Regions from separate parts of the Homo sapiens genome. Here region 2 is linked to region 1. The links are contacts of gene promoters, found by promoter capture Hi-C in human tissues and cell types (Jung and others, 2019). All regions are on one chromosome and are shown on one strand. Each heading gives the region's core, a stretch centred on a gene start or on the middle of the fragment in contact. The rest is flanking DNA. Distances are from core to core; before and after follow the strand shown.

Region 1 (5,679 bases), core at 2,105-4,604:
GTTTTATTTTTTAAAATCACTTAGTCTTAATAGAAAATATGTTCCCAATGTTCAAAATTTAAAGATTACAGAAAAATATACTATGAAAAGTCTTGTCCTGTATCTGAGGCCCAAGTGCCTCAGTTTCCCCCAACATTTGGAAACCAGTACTTCTAGTTCCTAAAGCAATTTCTGCAGCATGATCAATGTGATCTTGTGTAATTGGAAAAGCACAGGATGACATGAGGACACACTGTGAGGGCCTAAGCCAGCCTAAGAGTGGATGATTGAAAAAATGACTAAATGAGTGTTTCCCAAAGACCCTAATTCTGAAGAAAGGAAGGAGGAAGAGAAGGGAAAGGAAAGAAGAATCACCAACCATAGACAGCTAGTGCTTTAAGCCCTTGCACAGCCACCAGGTGGCCAGAGCATGCTATGATACCAAAAGCAACTCTGTCCCCTGCCAGACATCCGTCCAGACATCACGAGTTAATCAAGGCATCAGAAACATCCTTGGGGCGATGTGCCATGCTTAGCATCAGATTTATATGTCTAACAGCAAGTTTGTCCAACCGGCAGCCTGCAGGTGGTATGTGGCCCAGGACAGTTTTGAATGCATCCCAACACAAATTAATAAACTTTCTTAAAACATTATGAGATTTGTTTTGTAATTTTTTTTTAGCTCATCAGTTATCATTAGTGTTAGTATATTTTATGTGTGGGCCAAGATAATTATTCTTCTAATGTGCCCCAGGGAAGCCAAAACATTGGAAACCCCTGGTCTGGAACGTTCTACCCAAATCTGCAAATACTCGAATACATACCAGACCTCACCCCCTGATTTTTGGTTCTGAAGAAAAGGGGCCACTGATGAAACTTGAGTCGGGGACTGGAGAGATTGCAGAGGAATTGAGAGAACTTTCTTTTTCTCTCCAAGCTGCTATGAAATTTTCTTTTTTCTTTTTTTTTTTTTTTCTGAGATGGAGTCTCGCTCTGTCCCCCAGGCTGGAGTGCAGTGGTACAATCTCGGCTCACTGCAAGCTCCGCCTCCCGGGTTCACGCCATTCTCCTGCCTCAGCCTCCCAAGTAGCTGGGACTACAGGCGCCGCCCGCCACCACGCCCGGCTAATTTTTTGTATTTTTAGTAGAGATGGGGTTTCACCGTGTTAGCCAGGATGGTTTCGATCTCCTGACCTTGTGATCCGCCCGCCTCAGCCTCCTAAAGTGCTGGGATTACAGGCGTGAGCCACCGTGCCCAGCGAAATTTTCAATAGTATCTTTCATTGGAAAGAGAGTAGGGTAAGGAGTCATAAGCCTACAATGTATCAGGCAGATATTCTATTTTTGAGGTTGAGAGAGTCTGAGTGACTTGCTTCAAATCTCCCAGCCAGGAAACTGGGATTTGAACCCACATCTGCCTGGCTCAAAGCCTTCCACATCCATTGCAGCCTCTTGCTTCTCACAATATCTGTGATGCTTGCAGAACACATCTTCCCCTTCAGGGCCCCTGCGGAGGCCCACGATTCCCCTACCTTACCTTCATCAAGTGTCCTGAAGTTTCTGGGAGAAGTCATTTTACACTTTAAGGTACTATACGCATAGTAACTTGGGCCTGTGAGATTTCCAAAGACCTAAAACAATTCAGTAAAACGTCAAAATTGGCCGGGCACAGTGGCTCACGCCTGTAATCTCAGCACTTTGGGAGGCCGAGGCAGGCAGATCACTTGAGGTCAGGAGTTCAAGACCAGCCTGGCCAACATGGTGAAACCCTATCTCTACTAAAAATACAAAAAAATTAGCCGGGCATGGTGGCAGGTGTCTGTAATCCCAGCTACTCAGGAGACTGAGGCAGGAGAATCACCTGAACCTGGGGGGCAGAGGTTGCAGTGAGGCAAGATCGCACCACTGCACTCCAGCCTAAGCAACAGAGCGACACTCTGTCTCAAAAAGAAAAAAAAAATTGGTTTTGAAGGTGTGGGTGGCAGGAATTCTCGCCCCTGGCCTGGGTGAGCTAGAGGGGAGAAGCAAGGACATCTAGGTCCCTATCACCGCTTGCCTAGACAACTTCACAGGAAGGCCCCCGGGAATCTGAGATGGAGCAGGTGAACCCTTTACATCTAGATGGTGAGTCCAAAGGAGGTATTCAGAAGGTTGCCTTCTTCCCCTTCCTACTGCTGCCCAACGATGACCCGCAGGCTGAAAGAGCCCTTTCCTCCTGGAACTGATGTGGGACCTGGCCTGTTTGGGAGCAGAATGGTGAAAGGAATTAACATGGAAGACAAAGGGACAGGCAGCCAAGATCATTTGAGGAGGAAAAATTGCTTCATTTCTAGGCTCCTTCCCCTTTTGAAACAGATAAGTTACATCCATTATATGCTCAGTGTTTATATTCAGAACTGCAGTTCTAGCCAGGGGGGTCTCTTTCCTCTCCTGGAATTTTTTGGGCCATTTATGCATTACTCCTGAGGGAGGGCCAGTGCAGGGCAGTGACTTTGGTGTTGGTTAGAACTGGATTCGAGTCTTGGCTCTGCCATTATAAATACTGTGACCTTAGGCAAGTCACCTGATTGTTCTCTTAGTTTCTTAATCTGGAAAATGGAGGTGAAAATAGCACTGTTGTGGTGGCTGTGAAAAAGTATTTCTTTCTTTTGTTGTGGAAAAGTATTTAATTCAAACTTTTTAAGTAAAGCATTTAGCACATGTCTAATATATAGGAATTATTCAATAAATGGTTTAATTCTTTTTTAAAAAACCCAAAAGTTATAGCTCCAAAATTTTTAAAGAAAATTGCAAAATTAAAAGGAATATTTAATAAAATAGCTACAGAGAGACACATGTCTGCTAGTCAACTATAATTGAAGTCAACCCTTACATAGTTATATATAAATACAGCATAATAAAGATTCCCAAGAATACAATGAACCATTTTTTCTCATATTGAGTTCAGAATTACAATAATTCTTTCACATTTTTAAACAACAAGAAATGCACATCTGTATGGAAGTGAGGTGCATTTTGATGTGTTTGATATGACATGGGGTCTCCCAGGGTCTTAAGGTCTTAGGAAGATCCCAAGGTGGTGTGAGGAACCTGGAGAAGGACAAGAGACAAGTACTCATGGCAGAGACTTCTGTCCTCACCCCCTAGCTGCTCTGAGAGATTAAGAAAGCCAAGGCCTGCAGCAGCCAGCCATGCCCACAACAGAGGGGCCTCTCTGGATTTCTGTATCCCTGGTTTAAACAAAGGCCCCAGCAAGCTGAGCCACCAAAGCTCTGGGGATCATGAGGAACAAAGGCAGAGGGAGAGCAGAGTGCTGACAGGGCCAGAGGCCAGAGGCCGCAGGGCTATAAAGAGGAGGGCCACAGAGCAAGTGGTACCAGATGGAGACCCAGGCTGAGCAGCAGGAGCTGGGTGAGTAAGGCCCTCAGGGTGCCCTTGCCCTTCCTCTCCTTGCCCTGCAGAGACATGCCCAGGAGAGGGCCCAGTTCTCCTGCCTAGTGTGTAGAGCCTTCTAGGGTGGCTGGAGAAGAGTGGGGAACTCTGGCGGAAGACAGCCTTCTCTTGTCACCCCAAGAGGAGTCACTTATATAGCAATAACCACTGCCCTAGCAACTAAGGCTGGGGGATGGGCATGGGCCCCCAAGAAACGAGCAGGGAGAAGGTATGGGAGCAGGACCTGGGAAATGTTGCTTATTCAGAGATTCAGAATGGAAAAATATATTACAGAGTTGACATGCATCATTCCTGGGCCCAATACCAGCCAGGAGGAGGGCCATGAATATCTGTCCTAAGAAACCTAATACACACCTGCCTGTCTTCCTTCTTCCCTTCCTCCCCCACTTTTCCTTCCTCTTTCTTGCTCTGTCCTTCCTTTTTTAAAACTCGTCCTACCATCTTCACTGTCTACCTAACCTCTTTGAGCCTCAGTATCCTCATCTGTAAAATGGGGATAATGATAATTCTTAATTCATAGTCTGTATGTGAAGATTAAATGCATGAATGCATGTAAAGCATTTAAAACAGGGCCGGACATGTAGATAGCCATTTTTGAGTGTAAGTATTATAACTCTTTTCTTCTTCACTTTCCTTCAATAAGTCTTTTTCAATGTCCCCCTGATCCCTCATCTCCACATGTGCTCAGCACGATGCTATACCAATCCCCTAGAAGACCGAGGCCTTGCCATTGAGGTGCTCACCAGGACATCCAACCAGAACACAGATTGGTACTGTGATGAGTGCTATAAATCAAGAAAGCAAGCAAGTGGCTGTGGGCTGGAGAAGGCAGGAAAGCCTCTGAGAAGGCAAGGTCAAGGCTGGGTAGGATCTAGGAGATAGAAAAGCAGAAAGGAATGGCCAGGCGCCGTGGCTCATGCCTGTAATCGCAGCACTTTGGGAGGCCAAGGCGGGCAGATCACCTGAGGTCGGGAGTTCAAGACCAGCCTGACCAACAGGGAGAAACCCCGTCTCTACTAAAAATACAAAATTAGCCGGGCGTGGTGGCACATGCCTGTAATCCCAGCTACTAGGGAGGCTGAGACAGGAGAATCGCTTGAACCTGGGAGGCGGAGGTTGCGGTGAGCCGAGATTGCGCCATTGCACTCCAGCCTGGGCAACAAGAGTGAAACTCTATCTCAAAAAAAAAAAAAGAAAAAGAAAAGCAGAAAGAGGCCAGATAAGGATGAGACCGTGAAGGGTTACGAGGGAGTCTGGGGCTTGGGATCCTGGCATGGCTGGCTGTTTGGCCAGTCACATGAGGGGTCTGGCCTAGGTGGTTGCCAAAGAGTTTATATTGCAGACAGAGGTAATGCTGTCACCTGAAAGCAAGTGAGAGGACAGGGTCTCAGTGCTTTACCTGCATTATTGTTTCTGATCCTTGTTTTTTTTCTTTTTTTTTTTTTTGAGATGGAGTCTCACTCTGTTGCCCAAGCTGGAGTGCAGTGGCACGATCTCAGCTCACTGCAACCTCTGCCTCCCGGGTTCAAGCGATTCTCCTGCCTCAGCCTCCCGAGTAGCTGGGACTACAGGCGTGTGCCATCATACCCGGCTAATTTTTGTATTTTTAGTAGAGACGGGGTTTCACCACGTTGGCCAGGCTGGTCTCAAACTCCCGACCTCAGGTGATCCGCCCGCTTTGGCCTCCCAAAGTGCTGGGATTACAGGCGTGAACCACCGTGCCCGGCCTATTATTTCTGATCCTTACAATAACTGCATGTCGAAGCTTTACCAATGGAAAAACTGAGGCTCAGGCTGGGCGCGGTGGATCACTTGAGGTCAGGAGTTTGGGACCAGCCTGGCCAACATGGTGAAACCCCCATCTCTACTAAAAATACAAAAACTAGCTGGACATAGTGGTGCATGCCTGTAGTCCCAGCTACATGGGAGGCTGAGGCGGAAGGATCACTTGAGCCCAGGAGGCAGAGGTTGCAGTGAAGTGAGATTGTGCCACTGCACTCCAGCCTGGATGACAGAGAAAGACCCTGTCTCAAAATAGCAACAACAACAACAACAAACCCCGAGGCACAGCTAGTGAGCAGCAGAGCCAGAATTTCAACCAAAGTCTGTCTTGCAGACTTCAAGTCTCCTTTACCTTTCAAGGCATTCCCTCACCTCCCCCTCCTCCCAAGAGGCCACATCATTCGTGTGTGCTCTGTCTTCCAGAAACCCTTCCAACCACCAAGATGGCTCAGACCAACCCTACGC
Region 2 (5,679 bases), core at 1,309-3,808, 300 kb after region 1:
GGAGATGAGTGAGGGTTGAAAAATTACCTATTGGGTACAGTGTTCCCTATTCAAGTTATGGGTGCACTAAAAGCCCAGACTTCACCACTACGCAATATGTGCATGTAAAAAAAATCTGCAGTTGTACCCCCGAATATATAAAAACTTTAAAAATTTTTTAATAAATTAAAGGGAAAAAGTTTAAATAAAATTTGAAACTCATGGACAAATATACATCCATAAAATAACCACTTCAAAGCTGAATAATTATTGCTTCCTTTCTTTATAGACTTAAAAATAATAAATTGGCTTTCATTTTTCTTCCAATCTCCAACAGATTGAAGAAGAGATGTTGGCTTTGCAGAATGAGCGCACAGAACGAATACGAAGCCTGTTGGAACGTCAAGCCAGAGAGATTGAAGCTTTTGACTCTGAAAGCATGAGACTAGGTTTTAGTAATATGGTCCTTTCTAATCTCTCCCCTGAGGCATTCAGCCACAGCTACCCGGGAGCTTCTGGTTGGTCACACAACCCTACTGGGGGTCCAGGACCTCACTGGGGTCATCCCATGGGTGGCCCACCACAAGCTTGGGGCCATCCAATGCAAGGTGGACCCCAGCCATGGGGTCACCCTTCAGGGCCAATGCAAGGGGTACCTCGAGGTAGCAGTATGGGAGTCCGCAATAGCCCCCAGGCTCTGAGGCGGACAGCTTCTGGGGGACGGACGGAGCAGGGCATGAGCAGAAGCACGAGTGTCACTTCACAAATATCCAATGGGTCACACATGTCTTATACATAACTTAATAATTGAGAGTGGCAATTCCGCTGGAGCTGTCTGCCAAAAGAAACTGCCTACAGACATCATCACAGCAGCCTCCTCACTTGGGTACTACAGTGTGGAAGCTGAGTGCATATGGTATATTTTATTCATTTTTGTAAAGCGTTCTGTTTTGTGTTTACTAATTGGGATGTCATAGTACTTGGCTGCCGGGTTTGTTTGTTTTTGGGGAAATTTTGAAAAGTGGAGTTGATATTAAAAATAAATGTGTATGTGTGTACATATATATACACACACATACACATATATTATGCATGTGGTGAAAAGAATTGGCTAGATAGGGGATTTTTCTGAACACTGCAAAAATAGAACGTAGCAAAATGGCTTCAGTTATCACTTTTGGGTGTCTGTATCCTAAGAAGTTTCTGAAAAGATCTAAAGCCTTTTTATCCCATATCCCAAATTCTTATGAGCCACTCACAGCAGGCAGCATATGTTGAAATAAGTTATTACTGGTACACACCTGCATTGCCTCACCAGTGTATTTATTTGTTATTAAATTGATCTGACTTCTCAGCCTCATTTGGACTAAAAAAAGAAAGCAGAAATCCATGAACACATTGCTTCTCGGCCTTTTGGCTAAGATCAAGTGTAGAAATCCATGAACACTAAAGGACTTCATTGATTTTTTCAGAGAGTAGAAAACAACTTAGTTTTTCTTTTTTCCTGAATGCGTCATAGGCTTGTGAGTGATTTTTGTCCATTCAATTGTGCCTTCTTTGTATTATGATAAGATGGGGGTACTTAAGGAGATCACAAGTTGTGTGAGGATTGCATTAACAAACCTATGAGCCTTCAATGGGGAAGACCAGAAGGGTGAGAGGGGCCCTGAAAGTTCATATGGTGGGTATGTCCCGCAGCAGAGTGAGGAGATGAAGCTTACGTGTCCTGACGTTTTGTTGCTTATACTGTGATATCTCATCCTAGCTAAGCTCTATAATGCCCAAGACCCCAAACAGTACTTTTACTTTGTTTGTACAAAAACAAAGACATATAGCCAATACAAATCAAATGCCGGAGGTGTTTGATGCCATATTTGCAAATTGCCATCTATTGAAATTCTCGTCACACTACATAGACATAATTGTTATCTCCTTTTGGCTTATGTGATTTTCTGTTTACAAGTAGAATAGCCAATTATTTAAATGTTTAGTTGCCACAGTGAACCAGGAGTCACTGAGCCAATGACTTTACCAGCTGCTGACTAATCTTCATCACCACTGTAGATTTTGCTGCATGTGCAGGTCCTCTATTTTTAATTGCTGTTTTCGTTGCTGCAGTACTTTACAAACTTCTAGTTCGTTGAGACTTAGTGACCATTTGGCATCAAGTTAACATCACACAATAGGAAACACCACTTCCACAAGTCTCAAGCCTCAGTGCTAAAGTACTACTGAAAAGGAACTAGGAAGTTTGGCCAATTAAAAAAAAAAAGTAAAATAAGTTATAGTGGTCAGGGAATCTCTTGACGAAAGCTAACTCTTATTTTTCAGGGGGCACATGTTTTGTTTTGTTATGTTTTGTTGTACAATGAAGGATGAACCCAATGCTAAAAAGTCAGTTATTTTCTTGGTTTTCCATTTCTTGTATATAAATTGTGTTGGAGGTGGGTAGGAAGCTGTGAGTATGACTTGAAGAAAAATATCCTTTTCAGTGACAAATCAGAGTTTCTTACAAGTTATTGTCCTGCTCCCTTCCAAGTTGTCTTGAAGAATCCTTGCTGCTAACTCTGGATCCTGCTTTTCCTATAGTCAGAGGGCTCCAAGGTAGAACTCTCTAAGTCCCTCTCAATGGCACTCTTTGCCTAGACCAAACTAATGACCAAACAGTAATCAATCTATCACTGTTGAAGTCCTGGTTTTCTCAACCAAATTTTAAGTCTTTCCCAGGTATGTCAGTCGAGTTGCCATGAATCCTCACCTGTAGGAGTTTCTGGGATTCATTTTAAGGAAACTGGAAGAAAATTAATGTTTTAATGTAAATGTTTTTAAAACCAAGATCACCATAGAGTTCACACAAAATTTTAGGCAGTGTTTCAAGAAGCACTCTTATGTGTTGTTCTTTCAGCCCATGCTCCAGGTCACCGGTTTTTAGGTAAACATGACATGACATGTACTTGTAATATCAGTGAAAGGGGCTTTTAGTCGTCTCAGTATCTTTTTTGCATTCAGGTATTATAGCGTTTCCAACAAATTGAGAAATTACTTATTTGGTGTAAAATGACGAGAGAGCTTTAGAATTTAATAAAATGTCAAAAATACAATTTGATACCCTTAAAAATTATTCATAGATCTGGCTGCTCTGTACTACTGGATGGGTGGAATAGGGAAGCAGATCACTTTTGCATACAAAAACTCTTTCAAACCCAAAATATTATTGGTGGTACATTTTAAAGTCCAATTGTGGACTTAAATTAGTCAAATTGAGAGTTACTGAGTCCATTCAGATCTCCAGTAGGGTTTTGTATCTAATGTATTTGGCCACCAGTTTTACATGTAGGTCATGACTATACCTGGATTTTATCATTAAGTTAACTTTAAAGTATATACAGTTTGCAAAAAATGATTCAAATTAATTGGTTTGTATATGTTTGTGAGATCTAGCTTCTGAGGAATCTCATACATAGTAGGAACCATCATAGAGTAAAGCTTGTAGCAGAAAAATTGGAAGGGTTTTGAGATATCCTAGAGAAAGAGCAAGCACTTTCTGAATCAGTGGGGAAATATCAATATTTGATCAAATTAACACTACCTCCTTCCCAGTGTTGGTGTTCACTCACTATATGTCTTTAAGAAAATTAAAACTATGGAAAATTTGTCTAGCATATCAGAAGTTGTAAATGCTATATCTGGTATCCAGAGGCTGGCTGTAAAAAGTTCCTTGGGGTCACTCTATCTCACATTTTTTTTGGTTAGCATTTTAAAAATGCAAAGCCACATACTTTGAAATATATTATTCCAAATTGAGCTCCCTTCCCTTTGCACATATTTTTTCCTCCCCTTATTGAAGTCAGCTCTAACCCCAAATTCTAGTATCCAAAAGTATTTTTATTTGTATAATGCTATCTGAAAAATGTGTTTATATTATATTTTCAGAGCTGCAATTCTTATTCGCCATTTCAATACCTAGAGATAGAGAGTCTTGTATTTGAAGCCACACACACTGGTGTAATATGCTTAGTACTCTAGGTCAAGGATTTGTTGGTAAATGGAACATTTTAGCATAGTCATGATTTTTGGTTGCCTAGACATCAGGTAAACATTCAGTACACTAAAGAAACTATCCTGGACACTCCCTCCTGCTTCCACCAATTTTTTTCTCACCCCCTTTTCAAAAATTGAAAACTCTATGAGTGTCTTTTTGAGACCATAAAGCAGACTTTAGTAACTTTCTATTTCTGTAAGTACTAAATGTCTGGCATTTTAAACTTTTGTAGAATACATTATGTTGGACACTGGAATAATACTATTTATTTTCACCTGTGAAAAATGACTTCATTGTACTTGAAACACCTCCTTTGCATTTCTCCATTTGTGCCATTCACTAGTGGAAATAAATTGTATTATACCATGATCTACTGGCTTTTTAAAACTGTATTAAATATGCACATTTTTGGTATAGCTATTATCATTTGTATGTATATATTGTATATACATATGAGTGTCTGTATGTGTGTATAGATGGATGGATGTAACTCATACTGTACATTTCCATCAGGGCACTTAAAAGTTCTGTTATTTTTGTTTGGTTTTGTTATTTCAGTCCTCAGTTAAGGCAAGAATGCATGTGTTTCTTAAGAATGAGTACTCTGCGTTGATGTTTATGAGAAGGTGGTCATTAGATGCAGTCTTTTCCTTTTTAATCCCCTCTTAGCACTTCTGTGAGTGGAGAGGACATTAAGTAAAATTTGGAATCATAAGTTGCAATGCAGTAAAATGGTGCTGGGGAAGGAGCCAGTTAGTGTTTCTGTGAGTTTGTGTTGTGATGCAATAAGAGATAAGTAATGCAGAGAGAAATGAACCATGGAAAGTAAGAACACTGATGGTGATTCCTCTGCAAAGATGATAAGAAAAAGAACCAATAAATCACACAATCTTTATGTGCTTTCTATATGTATTTCTTAGTAGTGATACCATTGATCCTCTTACTTTTTTTACTCCATTAATACTAATAATTATATACTTTGCTGAGGATCAAAACAGCCAAGAAAGGAATTACTGCTAAAGCATCTAAGATTCTCCTGAACTGTAAAATCAACAGGAAATGGCCACTGGGAGAGAAGGATTTGGTATTGGGTGAGGGGCTTTCTCCCTTTACCTGCCTCTTCTTGCTTGCTAATAGTAAGTTCTTTGTGCACCTTCCACCACTTCTGAGCCACTACTATTCAAGTAGAGATTTGCCCCAACACATTAACTTTTTCCTTGGAGATTTATATGGTCCTGCATTTTGTCCTGTGCTCACAATGTGAAGTGTCTTCTGTATTCAAATCAAAAAATAATATATTTAAGGTATATAAGTGTGAATCTCCTATAATGATGGAAGAAGAGGTTCTCTTGTCTTAGATAGAAAAGAGCCTTCTCCAAGAGCAATGTCAAAACTTGGGCTGTCATCTTTGAGCTGTTTACCAAAATACAGACCATTATTGAAGAAAAACAAATTATCTATTTTGTTTTCCCCCATCTAACATGATAGTGCCCCCAACCAGGTTGTAGCATTGCCTTTTAAAAGAGACTCACTCACTCTTAGTTTTTAAGAACTGGAAATTTCCCATCCTCAGATCCCTTAAAGGATGAAGAGTTGGCTGTACACTTAGCGGACTTGCCTCTTGTATGCAAGGACTACTGATTGAAGTCTGTTTTGCT

Evidence for each region. Contacts are between HindIII fragments. The study calls those that stand out against the background at their distance.
Region 2: a contact is called between a fragment that was not itself captured here and the fragment with the promoter of CRYBA1 in region 1, in 1 of the 25 tissues and cell types used here (dorsolateral prefrontal cortex).

Annotation. Positions count from the first base shown.
Region 1 is chr17:29,243,505-29,249,183 of GRCh38, forward strand. It overlaps CRYBA1 (crystallin beta A1), which reads left to right and starts at 3,355. Exons shown (of 6, transcript NM_005208.5): 1 at 3,355-3,390; 2 at 5,638-5,679. The coding sequence starts at 3,360. The HindIII fragment of the contact is 12,335 bases long and covers 1-5,679 here.
Region 2 is chr17:29,542,245-29,547,923 of GRCh38, forward strand. TAOK1 (TAO kinase 1) reads left to right here. Exons shown (of 20, transcript NM_020791.4): 20 at 317-5,679. The coding sequence ends at 778. It also overlaps the pseudogene LOC124904148. Among named protein-coding and RNA genes, the nearest start is that of ABHD15, 22 kb to the right of the region's middle. The HindIII fragment of the contact is 5,004 bases long and covers 57-5,060 here.